2 separate regions of the Homo sapiens genome follow, and region 2 is linked to region 1. The links are contacts of gene promoters, found by promoter capture Hi-C in blood cells and fetal thymus (Javierre and others, 2016). All regions are on one chromosome and are shown on one strand. Each heading gives the region's core, a stretch centred on a gene start or on the middle of the fragment in contact. The rest is flanking DNA. Distances are from core to core; before and after follow the strand shown.

The links. Contacts are between HindIII fragments. The CHiCAGO score rates a contact against its expected background, and 5 or more counts as called.
Region 2: a fragment that was not itself captured here is called in contact with the fragment with the promoter of ADK-AS1 in region 1 in 1 of 17 cell types (total B cells); the score reaches 6.2 in total B cells.

The regions. Positions count from the first base shown.
Region 1 is chr10:74,525,245-74,532,564 of GRCh38, reverse strand. It overlaps ADK-AS1 (ADK antisense RNA 1), which reads left to right and starts at 3,241. Exons shown (of 5, transcript NR_120673.1): 1 at 3,241-3,272; 2 at 4,573-4,799. ADK (adenosine kinase) reads right to left here. Exons shown (of 11, transcript NM_006721.4): 7 at 7,139-7,309. It also overlaps the pseudogene MRPL35P3. The HindIII fragment of the contact is 4,742 bases long and covers 396-5,137 here.
Region 2 is chr10:75,047,110-75,054,429 of GRCh38, reverse strand. The region is part of intron 2 of DUSP29 (dual specificity phosphatase 29); the gene reads left to right. Among named protein-coding and RNA genes, the nearest start is that of DUSP29, 23 kb to the left of the region's middle. The HindIII fragment of the contact is 5,055 bases long and covers 370-5,424 here.

The DNA.
Region 1 (7,320 bases), core at 1,992-4,491:
TTTTGATAATAGAGACAGTTTTACTTCCTTCTTTCTAAATCTGGATTTTTTCATGCTTCTACTATTCCAAGGGTTTTTTTTTTTTTTTTGACACAGTTTCACCCTGTTGCCCAGGCTGGCGTGTGGTGGCATGATCTTGGCTCACTGCAACCTCTGCCTCCCCAGTTCAAGCGATTCTCCTGCCTCAGCCTCCCAAGTAGCTGGAATTACAGGTGCCCACCAACATGCCCTGCTATTTTGTGTATTATTAGTAGAGATGAGGTTTTGCAATGTTGGCCAGGCTGGTCTCAAACTCCTGACCCTCACCAATCCCTATTGGGATTGCAGGCATGAGCCACCATGCCCAGCCTCCGAGGGCTTTTAACAGAAATAGATGTCTGGATTTTTCAAAAGCTTTTAGGATAATCATGTGATTTTTCTTTTTAGTCTTAACATATTTAATTACATTGATGGATTTCAAAATGCTAAACCAATTCTACACTCCTAGTCATGATGAATTACTCTTTTAATATATTGTTCGGTTTGATGTGCTAAAATTATTTGAAGAATTTTTACATCTGTGTTTATGAGGGATATTGGTCTGTAGTTTTCTTGCAATACTTTGTTTTTGGTATGAAGGTAATGCTGACCTCATGAAATAAGATAGGTATATTTCTCCCTCTTCAATTTTCTGGGACAGTTTGTATACAATTGGTACTACATCTTTCTGAAATCTGTGTTAAAATTCAACACTGCCAAGTGCAGTGGCTCATGCTTGTAATCCCAGCACTTTGGGAGGCTGAGGTAGAAGGACTCGCTTCAGTGCAGGAGGTTGAAACCAGCCTGGGCAACAAAACGAGACCTCCTCTCTACAAAAATTAAAAATTAGCCAGCTGTGGTGGTTTGCACCTGTCGTCCTAGCTTCTCGGGAGGTTGAGGTAGGAGGATCATTTGAACCCAGGAGTTTGAGCTTGCAGTGAGACATGATTGTGCCATTGTATTATAGCCTGGGTGAGAGAGTGAGACCTTGTCTCAAAACAAACAAACAAACAAACAGAAAAGAATTAAACACTGAAGCAATTCAGCCTTTGAAGTTTCTTTGTAGCAAGGGTTTTAACTACAAATTCAATTTCTTTAATAATCTAAACAGACTTTTTCTATTTCTTCTTGAGTATGATTTAGTACTTTGTGTCTTTTAACAAATTTGTCCATTTCATAAAGGTTGTCAAATATATTGTAATAATATTGACAGGAGGGACCAGAACATCTAGTCTAGAGCTGATTTTAACCTGCTAATGAGACAAAATTCCTTTTAATACTCTACTTGAAGCCTCGTGAATTACGAGGTTATCCACTCTGACTAGTAGGATAGGAATGGTTATAGGTCCTCATGTGTGCACTGAGGATTGTCTTCTACAATCTTTTTAGGTGGTTCTTTTTGTGGTCTTCCTTAATTTCTTCACAAAAATGCACTGATTCATACTCAGCTGAAGACTTGTTGGGATTCTGCAAATGTCCTGTGTTCTCCCTCTATTCAGCTATTTCTTCTCTGGTACTTTTAACTTACAAACACTAGCTGTCTTAGACTCCTTGAACTTCCGGCTCCAACTCCTCATTAAAAGAGACTGCAAGGGTCTACTTGAGATACCCTTCTTTTTTCTTTTTGAGACAGAGTCTCAATCACACTGGCTGGAGTGCAGTGGTGCAATTTTGGCTCGCTGCAACCTCTGCTTCCCAGGTTCAAGTAATTCTCATGCCTCAGCCACCCGAGTAGCTGGGATTACAGGCGCACAACCACCCTGCCAGGCTTTTTTGTATTTTTAGTAGAGAGGGGGTTTCACCATGTTGGCCAGGCTGGTCTTGAACTCCTGACCTCAAAGGATCCACTCGCTTCAGCCTCCCAAAGTGCTGGTATTACAGGCGTGAGCCACTGTGCTTGGCCTTAGTTACCTTTCTTCTGTTGCCTGGAAATTATCTCCAAGGAGTTAGCTGGGGTAATCATCAGGTTTATCTTATTTATTTCTTGTCTCACAGGGATCATTGATCATTGCCTGTGAAGAAATAATCTTTGTGGACAAGGTATTATTTTTTTTAAATATTGAGGCTATCAGAAGTTTTAAATCATCATTACTACTGTACAATCCTCTGACAAGAGGAAGGTGACATGTAGAAAATAAGGGCCAAGTGTGTTTGATTTTAGCTGAGTTTTGACATTTTAAAAATTTATACTAAACACAGTATACTTTATTTTTTTGAGGGGGGAAATATTAAAGAATCCTACGTATATTCTCTGATAACTATATTTTATCCTTCGTCACATTTTAGAAGTAAAATGTCTCTTTTTTCCTGGAAAACTGAAGATAACATTATCACTATAGTATTCAAGGAGAAAAACAATGGATGATGAGATTAAAGGGATAAAGCATTTTACTCTACTTGCTTTTTATAATCAAATACGATATAATTTTTATTATCCCTATTAAATTTCATCACTCAACTGATATTTAGAGTCTACTAACATTTAAAAAAATCTGATTTTGACCTTCAACTTACCTAGTATGTATTAAGGTGTTGTATTATTTGCATTTGAATTATATGCAAATATAGCTTTATCTAAATCACTGTTTACTTAAGCAAAGGCAGGGTAAACACTGAGGCGTACCCCTAGAAATCAATTTATTTATCAACAGACCTTTTGAGACTGCTTCAATAAAATACCAAATACCTCTAATTGTCTTATAGCCAATCTTTATTATTCTATAGTCCACGTAATGACAGATGTTCTAAAATATACTATGTATCCACTGCTTATTGGTCTGCCATAATAGGTACTTAGGTACTATATAAATACCTCTTGAAGCGAATTCAAATGAACAATAATCATACCAAAAGAGAAAAGATTTTCTTGCCCCATGACTTACAGCCACGTAGCAGCTTACAGTTTTACCACTTCCTCTTCTAGGTGGGGAAAAATAATTCCTTTAATAATCTATGCTAAGCTGTGATCCAACTTTTAAGTTTACTGATTTGTAGAATAAAACTTTTTCAAAAAAATTGTGGTAAACTATACATATGATAAAATTTTCCATTTTAAGTATGCAATTCATTGGCACTAAATACATTCACAGTGTGGCGCAACTATCACCACTATCCATTTCCAGAACTTTTTCATCATCCCAAACAGAAGCTCTGTACTTATTACACAATAATGCCTCATTCCTCCCCACCCCACTCCCAGGTAATCACTATCCTACTATGTGTCTCTATGAATTTGCCTATTCTAGATACTTCTTGTAAGTGGAATTCTTCTTAGAAAATCCAATAATTGTCTGATGTGTCTGGCTTATTTTACTTAACATAGTATTTCCAAAATTCATTCATGTTGTAGCATGTATCAAAATTTTATTTAAGGCTAAATAATACTCCATTGTATATATACATGAAATTTTGTTTATTCATCTGTTGATGAATATTTGATTTGCTTCTATCTTAGCTATTGTGAATAATGCTGCTATGGACATTGGTGTACAATTATCTGAGTCCCTGCTTTCAGTTATTTTGGGTAATATACCTAGAAGTAGAACTGCTAGATCATATGGTAATAATTCTATGTTTAACATTTTGAGGAACCACCAAATTGTCTTCTACATTCCCATTTTACATTCCCACCAGCAATACACAAGTGTTTCCAATTTCTCCACATCTTCACCAATACTTGTTAATTTCCATTTTTTAAAACAATTGTCATTCTGATGGGTGTGAAGTGGTATCTAATTTTGGTTTTGATTTGCACTTCTTGAATGGTTATGTTGAGCATCTTTTCATGTGTTTACTGGCCATCTGTATATCTTCTTCGAATAAATGTTTATTAAATTCCTTTGATCATTATTGAATTATGTTGTTAGTTTGCTTATTGTTGAGTTGTTACTGTGTTAAATATTCTGAATATGAATCCTTTATCAGATATATGATTTGCAAATATTAACTCCCATTCCACTAGTTGTCTTTTCACATTCTTGTTAGTGTCCTTCGATGCCCAAAAATTGTTAATTTTGATGATGTCTAATTTATCTATTTTTTCCATTTGTTGCTTGTACTTTGGAGTCTTTTTTTTTTTTTTAAGTGAAGATTGTTTTGATATCATCAGCATCTGCTGCAAACTTAAACCACTTTTGGGACTTTCTTTTCTCTTTTGTCTCTACCAAACTTTTAGCATCATTCCCTGATTCTAAATACATTTTCCACCTTCTTTTTACATGTCTTTTACAAATTTGAGCTTTTTTTTTAAGTTTTAAAACTTTTATAAGTTCAGTGTTGTCACTGTATGTTTACATATTCATTGATACAATTTACATCGAGATTTTTACTTATCCATTTTTGCAGATATGTACACAAAGATACATATTCAATAACTGAGAAACAAGTGAAACTTCTGATCTATACTTTCAGGTTTGTTCGATCATGACACTTCTGATAAGGATCATGGACATACCAGTTTCACCTCTTCCAGAAGGACGTCGTCATTTTATCTTAAGAGTTTACTCTGGGTTTTATTGCCGAATACAAATTCCCTCAATCGCTTTTTTCTTGCAGGTGCCTTTTTCCATAATTTTTTCTTATAACCAGCCCTTCTCATCCAAAGGCCACAATGAAGTCGAAGAAACCTATAGATGACAGCTTTCACAATCCTTCTCTTGCCTTTTCCTGTACTGACGTATGTTAGAGATCTGGCTGGCAGCTTCAAGACACTTGGAAGCAAGAGGGCCACTCTATTAAGGATCGCTGAAGTATGCCCACATGTCAGGTTTCTCTCAGATGTGGTAAGTCTGGGAGTGGAGGAAACAACTGGTGTCTGAATATGACTAAAACGTCCAGTGGACAATGCAGAAATAAGAGAGGCATTTTTGACACAGTTTTGGTAGGCTGAAGATGCCAAAATATTCAGAGGCCATAAGATTCCTGAAGCTGCTCTCACTGCACCGGCAAAGGCAGAGGCAGCTATCTCGTTATCCTCCAAATTTGAGCTCTTATTAAAGAGTTTTCTGCGTGCTCTGCTATATTTTTTCAAAAGGTCCCTCCACATTCTCTCCTTAATTAAGATCATTTGTGACTATAAAGTCCAAATAGCATTTTTTATGGCATTCAATCTCCCTAAGCTTTCTTTACTTCCAAAGTTTCATTCTTTGGAATCATATTTATGTTTTTTTTTTTTTGTTTGTTTGTTTTTTGAGACGGAGTCTCGCTCTGTCCAGGCTGGAGTGCAGTGGCGCGATCTCGGCTCACTGCAAGCTCCGCCTCCTGGGTTCACGCCATTCTCCTGTCTCAGCCTCCCGAGTAGCTGGGACTACAGGCACTCGCCACCACGCCTGGCTCATTTTTTGTATTTTAAGTAGAGACGGGCTTTCACCGTGTTAGCCAGGATGGTCTCAATCTCCTGACCTCGTGATCCACCCGCCTCTGCCTCCCAAAGTGCTGGGATCACAGGCGTGAGCCACCGTGCCCGGCCTCTTTGGAATCATATTTATCTTTTTTAAAAGTTTTAAGATTTGTCTCTTAAACTCTAGAGAACTTATTTAAGTGCTGCCAGTCTGATCTTTCTTGACTATTTAGAACTCTGAGACCAAATGTTAACTTCTCCCAATGATTCTCAAGACTACTGAGACCAATGCTTTAATGTTATTCAAAAGGCTTGAATAGCACTTTTCCCATTTACTTCTTTTACCCTTTACAAAATAAAACTGTTAATAAGGAAAAACTAAATGGTAGATCTTAGTCAAATTAGGCTTCTAGCAGTTATATGGCACTTGGCTATTACCACTATTTCTTGCCAGTATCTCAATTTGTGAATTATCAAGAATATAGCATTTCCTTCCAATGTCACCATTTATAACCAATGTAACCATCACCTTTGCAGATACACTGTGATATTATTTCTATGGATCATCCTTTAATCTTTACCCAGGTGATCTCGTAAACTTCCAGGTCAATTTTTATGTTATTCTAGGCAGATGGCAGTTATTAGATATAAAATTGATGAATATATTCAAACTATGTTAGAACTATGGAATTAGAATCAGAATGAACTTCTGGGATGATTAATACAATACCTTCATTGTATACATTAAACCATCAAGTGACATGGCCAAGTCATAGGAAGACACACTGAAGGATTTTTTCCTCTTTCATGGATTTTTAAAGAGGTATAAACAGTAAATAAGAGGTATAAACAGTAAACAAGCAATCAAAGTAAATAAGCATTTAAGTAAATAAGCATTTCCATAATTTAGAATGGAAGAAAATACATTCTTGGTAGAAAGAAAAAACTGTACTTGTTGAGATGAAATTCCATTTTATCACCTTCAACTATAACAGACAATATTTTAAAAATATTATTAATAAAGAAATATAAATGTAATATATCAAAATTTACTCATAATTTATTAAACAAATATCAAATGGACTTAGACTCTGAAGAGACTTAAAAAAGTGATGAATGTGCTTTTTTATCCTGATTGTGGTCATAGTAACAGGACAGGTATCCATCTGTAAAAACTCACAGAAATTACAGTAAAAAGGATGACTCTTACTATAAGTAAATCAAACGTCAAACACCTTAAAAAAATAAATGTTGGGCCGGGCACAGTGGCTCATACCTGTAATCCTAGCACTTTGGGAGGCTGAGGCGATCAGATCACCTGAGGTCAGGAGTTCGTGACCAGCCTGGCCAACATGGTGAAACCCTGTCTCTACTAAAAACACAAAATTTAGCTGGGCATGGTGGCATGCGCCTATAACCCCAGCTACTTAGGAGGCTGAGGCAGGAGAACTGCTTGAACCCGGGAAGGAGAGGTTGTAGTGAGCCAAGATCATGCCATTATACTCCAGCCTGGATGAAAAGAGGGAAACTCCACCTCAAAAAAATAAAAATATAAAAATAAATAAATAAATGCTTCACTAAGAAAGAAGTTAGTATATACTGAAGGAAATATTGAAAATACTGAGAGCAGTTGACATTGAGGCAATTTTGTTGCACAATTCTCAAGGACATTTACACAAAAATTTAGGATTTAATTTATATATTTCTAAACATATATACACACATCAGAAATAAACAAACAAAAAACCCCCAGGTTCTTTTGAAAAAGGAAAGGTAACTCACTGTCTCATTTCCAAAAAGTATATCAACATAAGGCATAACTTTCATCAATGATTCCTTGTAGAACTGGCTAATAAACGGTGCAGATAGATTCAAAGTGAAAATCCTGTTGTTTTCAGAAGCATGGTGAGCCACCTTTAATACTGACTCTGGGGAAACTGTAAGAAAAAAGCCCTGGATGAAGA
Region 2 (7,320 bases), core at 1,648-4,147, 520 kb before region 1:
GACATGACAATATATCAGATGAACAGAAGAGCATTCATTTAACTACTTCCTTATTGTTGGGCATATCAGTTATTTTTATGTTTTCACTTTTATAAACAACACTGCAGTGGACATCTTTACACATAATGTTTTTTCTATATTTAGAATTATTTCCTTAGATCTGACCCTAGAAATGGTACAACTGAGGAAAGATTAAGATTTTAAGACTTAAACTGTCTCTGTATCTTTATCCATGCTGTTCCCTTTGTCTAAAATGTCTTTCCCTGCACCTCATGTCCAAGTCCAGATCCTATGCATTCTTCAAAGTCCATTCAAGTCACTTCTGCCATGAAGCTAGCTTCCTCCAATCCCCATAGTGAGAAGTAAGCTTTTTCTCTGTATATTATATACTGTATTTACCTTTCCTATGGCTTATAATAATAATAGTTAAGTTGTATTGAATTCTTAGGTGGTAGGTGTCATGCCTTGTGCTAGGCATCATTTAGACTCCTCAACAACCCTATAAAGGAGGAACCATTTTACAAATATTATTCCCATTTTACAAATGGACAAGTCACAGCTCAGAGAGTTCATTCATTCATTCAGTCAGCCAGTAACCCTTTACTGGACACCTTGCTTGGAGCTGCGGGGGAAAAAAAGAAGACACTGAAGCTCAGAGAAATCAAGTGACCAGCCCAAGTTCTCACCACCAGAAAGGGGTAAAATTTATACTCAAATCCAGATCAAAAAAAAAAAAACATGGTCAGTCAGGTAAAGAAGCTGTTTCAGAGTTGAGGAGGGGAGAGGGAGGAGATGGGTAGAAATGTAACAGGGAACAGAAACAGCGGTGAGTACTAGAGGGGAAGGAGCACGGGGTTTGAGTCTTGGCTCTGCCAATTACCAGTTGTGTGACCTTGGACAAATTATTTTACCTCTCTTCACCTTATGTGGCAACAATAATGGGACTTATCTCACTGGGTGAAGATTAAATGAAATCAAACAAATGCTAGAGTAGTATCTGGCAAGTAGTAAATGCTCAGTAAGTGCTTGGTGCTATTATGGATCTGAGAAAGATCACAGAAGACATGGATCTAGGCTCGACTTTTGAAGATGGGTAGGATTTCAAAGAAATTCCAGGCAGAGGAAGCAGGATGGGAATAGCTACAGAGGTGAGAAAAGCAGGGAGATTCATCTGGAATATAGGGGATGAATGTGGTACACTTTCAGAAGGTCCAAGATTAAGCCAAATTCTACTGCTGTGTGGTCAGTTTCGATTAGCTGTGCTAGTCTAATAGCTCACCCCAACATCTTGGTGGCCGGCCACAGCAATGATTCTTTCTCACTCACAATGCAGTCCATGGTGGGCCAGCTCTGCTGCGCTCCCGGCCACTTTACTCTAGGACCCAGGGTGATAGAGCAGCCCTGATTTGAGATCTTGCCAGCCTTGCAGCAGAGAGAAAAGAGAGACCTAGCAAACCATAAGCTGATTTAGAAGTGACACATGCCATTTTTGCCCACATTTCACTGGCAAAAGCAAGTCCACGCCAAAGCCTCATGTCAGTGGGGCAGGAAAGTATAACTAGCGCAGCCAGAGGGGCTGCAAACGTTCTAACAATAATGCCATCTGGCACAGCCTCCTGGTCAGGTGCATTGGCTTTGGGCAGGTTATTTTACCTTTTCCTCAACTTGAAGAATAGTTGGCCAGGCGTGGTGGCTCACGCCTGTAATCTCAACACTTTGGGAGGCCGAGGCAGGTGGCTCGCTTGAAGTCACAAGTTCGAGACCAGCCTGGCCAACATGGCAAAACCCCGCCTCTACTAAAAATACAAAAATTAGCCGGGGATGGCCGGGCGCGTTGGCTCACGCCTGTAATCCCAGCACTTTGGGAGGCCGAGGCAGGCGGATTACGAGGTCAGGAGATTGAGACCATCCTGGCTAACACGGTGAAATGCTGTCTCCACTAAAAATACAAAAAAATTAGCCTGGCATGGTGGCGGGCTCCTGTAATCCCAGCTACTCGGGAGGCCGAGGTAGGAGAATGGCGTGAACCCGGGAGGCGGAGGTTGCAGTGAGCCGAGATCGCGCCACTGCACTCCAGCCTGGTGACAAAGCGAAACTCCGTCTCAAGAAAAAAAAAAAAAAAAAAAAAAGTAGACAAATGCAAATATTATAGTTAACAAAAAAGAAATCTGGAAAGGTAGGTCAGGGCCAGCTCATGGAAGGGTGAATGACGGCCAAGGGACTTTATTCAGAAAACCATTGAGTGTCTGAGCAGAACTGACGTGTTCTAGTTAATCGAGTGCTAGACAATAAAATATGCTTGCCTCCTTGATGTTTGACCTTGAACTTGCTTCTTTCAACCAAGAAAATGGAAAATGTCACTGCCCTTTTAATTCAATCCAACTGTGCCTAATCGAGCCCCAATACAAGCACACACAGGTGTGTGAGACTTTACACCCCCAGCTGAGGGAGGGAGCCTCAAGTCAGCATGGTGTGTGCTTGTCCCTGATTTCTGTGACACTCACTTAACAAGGTTAATGAGACTCACAGACGCTTATTGCAAGAGCAATTAACTCTACCGCCAATGCAGCCATGCAAAGGTTATAAGCTGGGCTGTGAACAGGCAAGGCTGCCTGTGTTTCTTGGTCTCTTTGCAGGGGTTGCCCAAAGCAGCCAAAAGCTCCAAGCTGGTTCCTCATGCACAAAGCCTCAGTTTTAATTTGATATTTACATTTCGGTTAGGTTTTTCCTTTCCCTAAAAGCACCTAAGATTTTTGAAAGCCCAGTACCAAGGCTCTGGAAGTGAAGGAGGTCAGGACCCAGGAGTAAGGATGGATGTCCTGGGATGGCCAAAGCTACTATCTATCCTTGGAGCCCAGGCCAGTGACTGTGGGGCCTGCAGCGGGGCATACTTACCTCTAAGATGAAGCTCACTCTTTTCCTTGCTCCTTTTTGTGGAGATAGGTGGAGCGGCCAAGCATCTGCTCTGGGTCCACAGTGTCTGGACTGAACACTGGTTTCTGTGTGGCCTTGGGCAAGTCACTCAGGCTTTGTGACTTTCAGCTTCTTCGCCTATGTGGATTCTATGCGTTAATGCAAGCAAAACATGTCTCACGGTGCCCAGTACATTCATCAAGTTTGAACTATGACAAATCAGGCAGGTTCTGGAAATTCGATTCACAGTGTATGAGGAAGGTAAAGCACAGTCACTGTGCCTTGCCACCCAGGGTCCCCCATGCTAGGGGAAGCCTTGGGAGAGAAAACAACCCTGGGTCAGATTTCTCCCATGAGAATTCTATCATGACCCAGGGCAGAGTGTTGGAAGGAGGGCCTGCTCTCCTAGGCCTTCCAGGGAGGTGACCTAAGGCCTAAGAAGGCAGCCATATCAAAGTTCCTTGGGCCTGCGGGTTTCAAAATCGCTAAAGCATTTTCTCCATCCCAGGTTAGCTCAAGGGGATTCACCAAGTGGGCTGCCTGGTAATTCCAAGTCCTCACTGCTCAGCAGCCCAGGGAAGGGGAAAGGTGGCCCTGCCAGTGCAGCCTGATGAGAAAAGGCCACAAACAGGAGGGCAACGTGGAGGGTGCTCACTCTGCCGGCTCAGCAGAGGGGTCGAAGGGGTGGGGCCTGGCTGGCCACCTTGCAGATATTCCTGGGGTTCGGGGGAAGTCTTCTTCACACAAGGTGTAGCCACCCACTCCCCACTCATTCCTCTAACTCGATAGGGGTCTGAATCTGCCACAAGTGGAACTGCAGGCTCAGCGTGGAGCGGAGGGCTCAGGCATGACTCGGCACAGCGTCCCAGTCCCCACTGTGTGTGGGTGGCCACCAACTATGGGTGGCCTTTGGCAAAGCATTTTATTGTTCTGGGACTCAGTTTCTTTATTTGTAAAATAAAGGATGATTTCGAAGGTTCCCTTCCAGCTCTAAAATAAAATTATTTAAGAAATGGCCTATTAAATGAATTAGGCTTTATTAGTTTCAAGCACACACTTGTTTTATTACTTTTAAGTCATTCAAATTAGATTCAAATTAGGTTAACCAAGTGTTGTCCTCCAGAGAGCCAGGGACTGGCGTCAATGATGAGATAAGAATAATTCATCACCTCTTATCAATCAGCAGTCCCTAAATGGGTGCTTCAAAAATGCTTGAGTACGCTCGAAAGCACTAAGTTTCTGTAATTTAAATATTCTCACTTTAATCTCGTTCACATCTTTCATTTGCTTAGCAAAATCTTTTTTCAGTCCTTTTTTTCCCTATAGTCAGCAGGAGGGGAAATATCCTGGCTACCATCAAAGTGATTGCAAATTCCTAGGCAGGGCAGCCTCCAGTGATAAGGCTTGGCTGAAACGGGATAATTGAGAAATCTCTCTTCCCTCTCCACAATGCGGGTGTCGGAGAGCCAGTGCCAGGGTGAGGTTAAACTTCTGCTGCTCATGGAATGGTGCGGGCCCTCAGGAGCTCCTTATTTTTGTGTAAACTACAGTTGCCTCCAAGGTCCGGCATTTGGGCTCAGATTCCTGCCAAGGCCTGCAGCCTGCCCCACCCACCCAGCCCAAGCTGGCTTTCCAGGGAACCTCTGTCTTGTCCTTTCTGCTTTTCTGCTTCTGACCAGACCCACAGCCTCAGAAGCCAGAGGCATCGCCACAGCTGGCCTGGCGTTGAGAGCCTGGGAAGTGAAGTGAAGGCAAGTCAGTCAGCTGAGACAGCTCCTTCTCCCCGAAAAGGAGGAACTAATTCCGCCTTAAGGCACCGAGCACGAATGAAATTAACCTGCTTCTTCGAGGTGTGGGTGGTGTGGCCAGTTTAGGATGCAGCAAAAAACAGTCAAGGTTGCGAATTTAACATGCTGGGCGTTACCTGAAATAACTAGGACTTCCAACTACTGAAGGCAACTGAGGCATAGCTGGGCAGCAGTCACAGGCAAGACGGTCGGGGAGAGAAGCCTGAGGCCCTGGCCTGGCCTGGCCTTCTCATTGCCAGAACACGGCTTAGCAGTCAAGGCCTCAAGCAACATAAACCATCTCCTTGCATGGTTAGGCAAATGCCGAGTCCAATCACTCACACGACATCATTTCTCAAAACCAGACCTCCTGGGTACTCTCTTCTCTTCACCTCCATCCTTGGAGGAATAGAGTTTGGGAGAGTGGGGCAGACAGGAGATTTCCAGTAGAAGTTAAAAACCCCGAGGCCACCTTATGCCTTTACAATGGTCTCTCCTGAAAACTAAGGAAATAACAATACAAATCATGCTATATTTACATAGTAAATGAATATATGACTCGTTCATTACTGAAAATGTACAAAATGTAGAAAGACAAAAACAAGAAAATTTAAACTACATATAATCCCATTACCACATTTTGTCATGGGATAAGCACATTCTGACATAAATCTTTCCACTGCCTTTTCCCCTTGGAGTCATCTTTTAACCTCTCAAAGAAGCTTCAGTATTGCATCATTCAACTTCACAAGACTCTCACAAGGAAAGTACTGCCAGTGTAATCGGTACTATTTAGCAAACAAAGAAAACGGAGGCTCCCAGCAGTTCTGCCACCTCAGTTCATGCGTCAGTTTCAGCTGTCAGCCCTATGTTTTCTCAGGTGCCTCAACACGGAGGAGCTTCACCCTCAAGTAACAAGAACACCCAAGACACCGGAAGGCCGGTTCATTTCACTTTCCCATCAGGTGAACTAACCGAGATCAGATGCCAGAAATGTGCCCACTGTTTTAAAGTCCACTTGCAAGGAACGGGCACACTCAAGACTGCACGGTTAAGACTCCACTGGGTTTGGGAGGTGGAGGCAGGTGGATTACCTGAAGTCAGGAATTTGAGACCAGCCTGGCCAACATGGTGAAACCCTGTCTCTACTAAAAATACAAAAATTAGCCACGCATGGTGGCACACACGTGTAATCTCAGCTACTCGGGAGGCTGAGGCAGGAGAATTGCTTGAACCTGGGAGGTGGAGGTTGCAGTGAGCAGTGAGCCGAGATTGCGCCACTGCACTCCAGCCTGGGCGACAGAGCGAGACTCTGTCTCAAAAAAAAAAAAGAAAAAAAAAGTAAACTACATGATTCCAGTGAACTGGGAAGAGTAAAAAAAAGGTTACAAAAAAAAAAAGTAAACTGCATGAGTCCAACAAATGTGTAAACAATGTCCATCACTGCTAAAATGAATCAGTGAAAACAAGACACCATTAATTTTTTTTGTCTATGAAATTGACAAAGAATACGGACTGCAATTTTTAGCAATTTTAGCAAGTTTTCTGTAGGGTAATTTAGTAACAAGTATCAAATGTATTTTAAAATGGCCATATCTGTTGACCCAGCAATTTCACCTTTAAAAATGTCTCCTACGGACATAAACAGAGGAGTGCCCAAAGAAACACATCAAAATGTTTGGTAAGAAAAAATTGGGACATACCTATATAATGAAATAGCATGCAGTTATTGAAGTCTTATATGTTGCCACAGGAAGATGTTTACAATATATCACGTCAAAGGTTTTGAAACTTTATATATATAGTATTGTACCAAAAAAAAACCTTTCTATAAAATATACAAATCTATGCATAGAGAAACAATGGGAGGTTCTTACATCAAAAGCTAACAATAGCCTTTATCTCCAGGGGAGTAGAAATACAGGTGATTTTTTTGGAGGGGGGAGTATGTTTTCTACATTCTACATTGAGCATGTGTTATTTTTGTCATGAGACGACATATTATTTAAAAATTGAACAGACTGATCACATCTAGGATTGTGCCTAACCAGAAACTAAAGCTCCTGTGTCATCTAGATTCTGGAAGTACATTCTTAAATCTGTTTTTCTTTCTGAAGTCTTTTCTCCCTCAGCAGAGGCATTTATGTGGACCCAGGAGTGGGGCACACGGCCTTTTCTCCATGCCCATCACCTCAAAATGCCCCTGTGTTTCTTAGTCTCTTTTTAACATATGTGAGCAGATAATGTATGTGGCCCTGAAATTTAAAAACAAAACCAAAGCAATCTAGTGTCAGACACCACCCTCTGAGCCTGCCCCACTCCCAATAATTGCTGAGCTGGGCATCTGTCCCATCTGGGGACTGGACGATGGGTGTCTGTGATGATGGCTCTGCCTCCCCCACAACATCTGTGTAAGAGGCACTCCATTTATTTGCAGATTCCCATTCTGCTGTGGATGCTCTTTCAAGCCCTCAACTGAACTCTGAGTGAATGAAGCTGGGGGAAGTCCCCAGAGTGATGTGTGAGGATACCAACTCCCCTTCCCGTCCAGGGAGCCAAGACCCTGAAAACTTGTGGTGGGCCTCAAATACCCACCGGGTCTCAGGGTCCTCACGAGCCC